Linked DNA regions of Homo sapiens: all the other regions are linked to region 2. The links are contacts of gene promoters, found by promoter capture Hi-C in blood cells and fetal thymus (Javierre and others, 2016). All regions are on one chromosome and are shown on one strand. Each heading gives the region's core, a stretch centred on a gene start or on the middle of the fragment in contact. The rest is flanking DNA. Distances are from core to core; before and after follow the strand shown.

Region 1 (3,014 bases), core at 303-2,802, 1.2 Mb after region 2:
GAGAAGTGAGAAGTGAAATGGTAGTTGGAAAAAGATTGGGGATTGAGAAAATTTTGTAAAGAACTAGAGGTAGTTACAAAGAAGCCGTTACTGTGTCTGCTATATAAATTGGATGACTGTTAAACAGTTCTCAGTTAAAAGCTCTCAGTTAAACAGTGTTCCCAGGCTTTAAAATGTTCATTCTGTGGAACTAGATGTTCCCCAAGGTTCCTTCCATATCTGTCCTTCTAAAATTCTACAAGTACTCCTTTTTCAAAAGTCATAAAGAAAATATCCAGGACTGATATTCAAGCAGCTCCTCCTCATTTTCTTCTCAATTCATTTGATCATTAATTTATTCATTCATTTCCCTAGAAGGTGAGTGCCACAAGGGCAGGATTTTTGTTCTTTGCAGATGGGCACGTAATAGGTGGTCAATAAATATTTGCTTAATGAATTAACAAATGCATAGATTCAATCAGCAGGCATAGAGTACCTACACATGTGGAGCTCACTCAAAACCACTCAACAAACATTCAGCACCCAACAAATGCCAGGCTCTATGCTAAACACAACTCAGTCAGCCTCTTCTTAAAGTGGAAAAAATTAGGATCTGTTCTACCTGCTTCACAAGGCCATTATGAGAATCAAATGGGAAATACAGGCTCTGAAGAAAACTTTGCAATAAACAGGGGGTGTAAAAAAGACTTTGCAAATACCATAGTACCTTAGAAAGATCAAATGTTATTAATAAACATGGCTCTGCCCTCAAGAAGTTTGTAGTGAAATTAAAGAAATGAGAAAAACATATGAGAGAGATGTAATCACTGTTTTGTGGGTACCTAAGTGTGCCTCAGGCAGTAGAATGCTTTACATGCCTTCTCTCGCCCCACCATTGTACCCACACCTGAGATGGGTATCAATACCTTCAGCATGTAGATGCAGAGACCAACGTCTGACAGGTTAAATCACTCAGCTAGTAGGAGACAAAATGGATGAAAAGCTAGGTCTGTTTCTTTTTCTAAAATATTTTCTTTCACACAAAAGTAAATCTTAGGAAGCATTTGAAACCATTGTCCCTGAATACTAGCAATGAGTAGGTGAGGGAGGCGGGAACTATCATTTACTGCATGCTTACTTGACGCTGAACTCTCTATATAGATATCATTTAACTCTTATTTGTGACATAAGGCTTACATCCATTTGGTACACGAACACAAATTTCAACTGAGGTCTCCAATTCACTGATAATAACTAAAGTAGGCTTAAGCAGCACCTGTTATTTTGTGGAAAACCCAATGCTATTTTCAAGGTTTTGGAAAATTCCCAGGGATTTCATGTCTTGAGGTAAATTCTAGTTCCAAACACACTTACCTCAACACATGCTGTGCCCACAGCTGATCTCCCCCTTCTGCTGGGCACCAGTGCAGACCTGAGATGCAGAGCCTTTGATTTCACGCAGAGATCACTCTCGCAAAGCATTAAAAAGCATATGGTAGGCTTTGCGTTATGTTTTGGGAGACAGAATAGCTTTACATCCTAGCAAAGTAAACAGCGTAAGATTGACTAGCAGACAACCTTGCCCATCATATCCTTTGTTCAGGTGACTCTAGGAGTTTCTCACTGTTAATTTTTCTGCAGACACTCCAGCCTTCCCCTGAAGACACTCCTCACATGTGATTCCCCTTGTGAACACCTACGGAATTGCCTATGTAGAAGCACTTATTTTAAATCCTGCCCCTTATCCATCTGTAATAATCCTGGGGGTTTACACGGTTCTTACATTACCCCAGTGACTGGTCAAGTTGTGGCCATCTATTCCATGTTCAGCCAATGAGGCCCCTCCCTGGGCATTTTGGAATCGGGACCAGAGAAGCAATTGGGTCAGCCCCTCTCTGACGGCATCCAGCACCTCTAGTGATTGATAAATTTCAGCATCAGCTTAAGCCAATGTAAGCTGCTGCTTAAGCATCAGCTGAAATGTATCAATCTCTAGAGGTGCTGAATGCCATGTTTCAGCAGAAAAAGAAAGCCAGTTTTCAGGGAGAGAATGAAGCATGTTTACAAAAAGGAGCCAAGAGGAGAAAAAACAAGATATGAAAAGAGAGATAGTCATGACAGTACCCAAGACACTCATTTTGGAGTTCCCAGAGCCCAGACACATCCGTGTTCTTCAGCTCCATCTCTTGGGCTGTCAGCTTCTAGCAACTGCTGGTGAATTTGAAATGTGATCCTCCTTTTCTCCTCCACCAATCTTTGTATGTAAATGAAAGCAGTAGAGAATTATCTCCCTCCACCATATGAATTATGCCAATCATGTTAGAAGATACAATCAGTTTACTCTTAGTGAAGAACTCAGCTAACACAGACAACCCCTGCCAGCTCTGACAGAAGCAAGGACACCCTATAATGCTTTCTACCAGGCATCCTACCCAGCCCCAGCAAGAGTCAGATGTCAGGGTTCTTCCCATCAACCTCATGCCCAGGTAGGATATGGCTTACACTGCTGACTTAGCTGGTGGGGTGGACACTGTCCAGGAAGCCTTGTCTGTCATCTCACAATGCACAAAAGGGAATGGAGTATCAAGGAATTTAAAGAACTTGCTAAAGTCAGAACAAGTAAGAAGAGGTAGAATTTGAAATTGGGTATGCTTGTGTGTCATTAACATGATGGTGGGACAGAAGTGCAGGCCCAAGTGCAGACCCAAGAAAGCAGGGCTGGGGGATGAGGATGGGAGAAACCCATCTACCAGGGGTCTATAGAGCTTTGCCTTTTCCATATTGTTATTTCTTTTCTCCTTCCTCCTTTATTCTTCTCCTACAATCGCTTCCTTCCTCTACCTTCTCCTCCAACCCTTCTGAGCCCCAGGACTCCAACTGGCATGGAGGAACACAAGTGGCTCCACTCTGACTACTGACCATCCCCCTGAGGCCAGTCAAGAGACCTTGAGCCCTCACCCTAGAAAACAAGACAATCTTGTGCAGAGGACACTGTGATCCACTAAGGACAAGGCACAGCAAAGAGAATTCCAAGT
Region 2 (2,790 bases), core at 120-2,619:
AACTGTCACTTTATTTCACCTGGCCCACCGGACATGGGCTCCAGGAGGGCAGGGCCCCTGTCTGATTTCTCTCTGAATCCTCAGAGCCAGGGTAAAGTGGGCGCCAGTTAAATGTTTCAAGAATGAACAACTAAACCAGTCATCATTTTAGAGAACAGGCTGTTTGAGAGATTCTACTCAGAACCACTTATTTGATAGAGGAAGAAACAGGACTCAAGGAGAGGGGAAGTGACTTTGCTGAGAGGCAGGCACACTGTGTTTAGTCCAGAACAACATCAAGCCTTGGATGTTTAGTGCAGAGTAACATCCAGCACCCATCACGCAGTGCTAAGTCATTTACATTCACCATTTCCATTCTCAATGGGTAGAACAATCCCATTTTACAGAGGAGAACGTTAAGGTTAAGGAACTTGCTTTCCCCCCAGCTCTCTGCAGGCCAGCCCCACCAACCCTCCTTTCCTCAAGCCACATTCTCTCCCAACAAAATGAGTTTGCTCTGTTGTTCCCCGCCCGGGAATTCTCTAAAGTTTTAGTTCCAGCAGCCTTTGTAGCTGGGGGCCCTGATAAAATCTCTCCAGCACCCTAGAATTTCAATCTTCATAGCTCTGACCACAGTTTTAACGTTCACACTTGTTTGCATAGATATCCATTTGCTGTCGGTCTCCCCCCACTGGACTGTGAGCTGCACGGGGGAGGGCACCACATTTTTTGGCCTGCTACTGTAACCCCAGCACTTAGCCCAGCAGCGGACACTGAGTGGAACACGTTAAGTATTTGTTAGACACTGTGCTTATATTTTTAACCTTTGAGTGCACGAGTGCTAAAGGTGGGATCCGAACCCACGTCTCCGGGACTCTGGTCATAGCCAAAGGGGAGCTGGGGGTTAGGTTGACACGCTGCAGCGAGAACCGCCGGCGCGCAGAGGCAGCGCGGAGCTGTCCCCCCGGTTCGCGCCACCCCGGATGGCTCCGCACTCCGCCGCCACCTGTCGCCCCAGCGGGGACTCCCAGGACTCAGTTAGGGGCCAGGAGTCACGTGGGCCCGGGCATTCAGCCGCGATCCAGGTCCTAGTGGGCTGACGAGGGGCCCACGCTGCGCTTACCTGCTATTTGCAGGGCTCAGCAACGGCGCTCGGCGAGTCTCGGGGGACTGCGGGGGACTAGGGGACCTGCTGGGCCTAGCAGGGGCTGTCGGTCAGCGCGCGGCCCGGCGCCCGAGGTCCGAGAGGGAAACGACGTTTGGTCTCGGGACTCAAGGCTGCCTCCGGCCCGGGCAGCCTCAGGTCTAGATCCCCTAGTACCTGAGCTGGAGGCGGGGCCAAGGCGAACTTGACCTTGCGCTCCCTTAGCGGCCCCGGGCAGATGGAGTCTGAGGGAAACAGATCTGCGCCCCGCCCCTTCGCTGGGGCGGGCCCTAAGGAGACCCGGCCCTGGCCCCGCCCAGGGTCCTAAGCCCCGCCCTCTCCCCTGCCCCCGCCCCCGCCCGCTGGCTCCCAACCGCCAAGGCTCTTTTGTGTTGCGTGCGTGTTTGCTTTTTTATTCTCCTGTTTTGTATTCTGTTTGTTTTGTATTTTTATTTAATTTTCTTTTAAAAAAATACATGAAAGTAACGCCCACTTACTTATTAGAAAATAAAATTATCTAGATTTGCTTATAATGAAAGCAACAGGCCACTTCTCCCTCCCATCACAGCTCTTTTTAACAATTCCTCCGTTAATTTCTTCTAGTGGTCACCCGCTTGTCGCAAAAAAAAAATAAATAAATAAAATAAAAAAATAAAAAAAGAAACTTACATAGCGATTTCTTGATTTATCCATTGACTTTCTGCCATGTTATATGAGGATCTACTCTCTTACTGCGCGGCCCCTGTTTCCTTCTGACAAATTTACACCTCTATTCTCAAGCCCTGCCCTGGTAAACGCCAGACCTCAAAGCAGGGAAGGATTTCTGGGGCCTGAAGCATACACAGTTGTGTGGGGAGAAGGAAGGGAGGGCTGCTTAAGAAAGAGAAGACAGAATTAGGGCTTGCCAGTGAACATTTATTTGGAATGAGAAAATAAATCTTAACAGAATCCTGGGGTCTTAGAGATTGGGGTCCCTATCCCCTAAAACCTTCTTAGGAAATTTAGGTCCCAAATTTGCTTCCCTAACGCAGTCTGGCTTCCTCTGCCCACCCAGAACTCTCCATAAGCCCCCAGGGCTCATGGGAGCCTTGCAGAGAGAGGCCTTGAAGGACAAGATTCACTAGATTCTGCCAATACAGTTTCCTAATGGAGTGAATTGGAGTGTGCGAAAAAGAGAGACATCAAGGATGATGTCAAGGTTTTTTGATTGCTGTACACTTAATTTCCAGCGTTTCCTAGACACAGGAACACAACCTCATCTTAGTATGGAGAGTGTTTTATAAGCCTGTCCACATCACCAGAGCCTCACGGTGCACCCATGAAGTTGGCTGGACGGGTGCACTGTCCACAGTTTTAGGAGGCCCATAAATTTGTCCCTTGTGTATTAGCACCGGGGGCATGCAACTTGCACCCAATAAGTACCCAGGTAAATGGTACTTCCCCACTCAGTCTGAAGACACAGTGTCCGTGCCCTCTCGGATCCCTTTTCTCTTACCTGTGGTGTAAAATGTGGCTCCAGAAGGTGATCTTGGACAAGTCTCTTTACTTCCCAAGCCTCACTTTCCTTTCGTATAATGGGAGGTAACAACCCCTACCGCACTGAGTTTTGGGGAGGATTAAGTGGCTTAACATCTTTGGATATTCTTTAATTGATAAGTCAGCTTATT
Region 3 (2,787 bases), core at 85-2,584, 1.2 Mb after region 2:
CATCTGAACATCTGAAAACACAAACTCCGGACACACCATCTTTAAGAACTGCAACACTCACTGCGAGGGTCCATGGCTTCATTCTTGAAGTCAGCGAGACCAAGAACCCCTCGGAGAGAACCAATTCCAGACATAATACCTATGGCCCCTTGGGGATTTCTCCACAGACAGTTGACAGAATAGAAAAGGAGCAGGAAAAGGGCTTTATAAGGATTAGGCTAGCATGATATGCTGGCGTGAGCTAAAAATATGGACTGTTGCTGCACTAAAGACACACCCAAAATAACTCTGGGTGCCAATTCAAGTCCAGTGGTCATCTGCTTTGTGTCTGGAGAGAAGCGGCCAAAAGTAAGAATATACACAGACTTCTAGGTGGTGGAGAATGGCTTGGTTGCTTGGTCAAGGGCCTCAAGGGAACAACACTAGAGGATTGAAACCAAGCATGTCTGAGGAAGAGGCATGTGGCTGGAGCTATAAGAATGGGCACATAATGTGTTGATCTTTGTGTCTCACACTAGAGCCCACCAGAGAGCACGTGTGGCAGAAGAAGCACTGAATAAGCATATGGACAGGATGACTGGTCTAATGAATGCCTGTCAGCCCCTGTCCTCAGCCATCTCAATCCTTACAAAGGGCCCATAAATGAATGGATTAGTCGTGATGGCCTGAAATGATGGGCTCTCTCTCTCCAAGGCTGATCTAGCTACCACCACTACTGAATGCCTGACCATTAGCAACAGACACCAATGCTGAGTGCTTGATATGGTACAATCCCTTGAGGACATAAAGCAGCCACTCAGTGGCAAGCTTATTACCCAAGGTCTCTTCCACCCTGGAGGACACAACAATTCATCCTTACTAGAAATGAGAATGTCAACTTATAAACATAGAAGAAATGAAGGTATAAGAAAATCATTATTTTGAAACCATCATAATGATGGTTCATGCAGACAAAAATCAATAATGAATATGCATTTGTAAAAGTTTGATGAGGAGAAGGATATGTCCACCATTTCAAAGTACCTCCCCCAAATTACTTATTTATTACAGAAAGTAAAATAGTAACTTTACTATGTAGAAAACTACTGGACACCATCTTAACCAAGTGATCAAAGTTACAATCCCAAATCATCATCAGTTGACTCCTACCATTATGCACTGAGAAGCAAACAATATCACTTATGTAGTACTTTTACCAAAAAAAAAAAAAAAAAAAAATGCATAGGCCAAATCTGACCAGGGGAAACACGAGACAAATTCAAGATGAGCAACTTCTACAAAATAACTATCTGTAGTCTCTAAGATATAAACGTTGTGAAAGACCAAGGAAACCCTGAGGAACTATTCCAGATTGAAGGAAATCTAAGGGCTAAGAGTGATGATAACTAAAAGCAACATTCTTCTTGGACCAGAAGAAACAATGCTATGAAAAGCATTATTGAACAACTAGCAAAAGTGGAATGTGGACTATATGTCAAATTGTTTAATGCTTAAACATCGAGTTTCTTTAATTCATTAATTATACTGTGGTCATATAAAAGAGTTATCTTGTTGTTAGGAAATAAATACTGAATTACTAAGGTTTGAAGGAGCATAATGTCTCTAACTTATTCTCAAATGATTCAGGGGGAAAAGAAATAAATATACATGTGCGTGTGTCAAATATATATATTTCACGTGAAATATATATACATTTATATTACATATATTTTCATATATATGATATAAAGATGAATGATAAAGCAAATATAGCAAAATATTAACAATGGGTGAATCTGGTTAAAAGATATACATGAATTATTTAGTATGATTCTTATAATTTTTCTGTAAGTTTGAAATTACTTCAATATAAAAATGTAAATAAGCTTTAAGAATAAAGGATAAGAAAATATATTGTAGAGCCAGGTGCAGTGGCTTATGCCTGTAATCCCAGCACTTTGGGAGGCCAAGGCAGGAAGATTACTTGAGGTCAGGAGTTGGAAACCAGCCTGGCTAACATGGCGAAACCCCTTCTCTACTAAAAATACAAAAATTAGCCAGGCTTGGTGGCAGACACCTGTAATCCCAGCTACTCAGGAGGCTGAGGCAGGAGAATCCCTTGAACCTGTGAGGCAGAGGTTGCAGTGAGCCGAGATCATGCCATTGCACTCCCAGCCTGGCCACAGAGCGAGCATCCGTCTAAAAAAAAAAATTATAAGTGAACTCCCATTCACAATTGCTACAAAGAGGAAAAAAATGCCTAGGAATACAACTTACAAGGGATGTGAAGGACCTCTTCAAGGAGAACTACAAACCACTGCTCAAGGAAATAAGAGAGGATACAAAAAATTGGAAAAAAAATTCCATGCTCATGGATAGGAAAAATTGATATCGTGAAAATGGCCATACTACCCAAAGTAATTTACAGATTCAATGCTATCCCCATCAAGCTACCATTGATTTTCTTCACAGAATAAAACACTACTTTAAATTTCATATTGAACCAAAAAAGAACCCACATAGCCATGACAATCCTAAGCAAAAATAACAAAGCCTGAGGCCTCACACTACCTGATACAAGGCTCAGTAGCCAAAACAGCATGGTACTGGTACCAAAACAGATATATAGATCAATGGAACAGAACAGAGGCCTCAGAAATAATGCCACACATCTACAACCATCTGATCTTTGACAAACCTAACAAAAACAAGCAATGGGGAAAGGAGTCACTATTTAATAAATGGTGTTGGGAAAACTGGCTAGCCATATGCAGAAAGCTGAAACTGGATCCCTTCCTTACACCTTAT

The links. The method cuts DNA at HindIII sites, captures the fragments that hold promoters and counts their contacts. A CHiCAGO score of 5 or more calls a contact.
Region 1: a fragment that was not itself captured here is called in contact with the fragment with the promoter of NMNAT3 in region 2 in 2 of 17 cell types (monocytes and naive B cells); the score reaches 7.1 in monocytes.
Region 3: a contact is called between a fragment that was not itself captured here and the fragment with the promoter of NMNAT3 in region 2, in 1 of 17 cell types (endothelial precursors). The highest score is 5.8, in endothelial precursors.

What each region holds. Positions count from the first base shown.
Region 1 is chr3:140,846,720-140,849,733 of GRCh38, forward strand. No RefSeq gene overlaps it. Among named protein-coding and RNA genes, the nearest start is that of SLC25A36, 94 kb to the right of the region's middle. The HindIII fragment of the contact is 8,464 bases long and covers 1-3,014 here.
Region 2 is chr3:139,676,603-139,679,392 of GRCh38, forward strand. NMNAT3 (nicotinamide nucleotide adenylyltransferase 3) reads right to left here and starts at 1,370. Exons shown (of 7, transcript NM_001401600.1): 1 at 1,103-1,370. RefSeq lists a silencer at 1,424-1,473. The HindIII fragment of the contact is 2,876 bases long and covers 1-2,790 here.
Region 3 is chr3:140,878,992-140,881,778 of GRCh38, forward strand. No RefSeq gene overlaps it. Among named protein-coding and RNA genes, the nearest start is that of SLC25A36, 61 kb to the right of the region's middle. The HindIII fragment of the contact is 1,058 bases long and covers 806-1,863 here.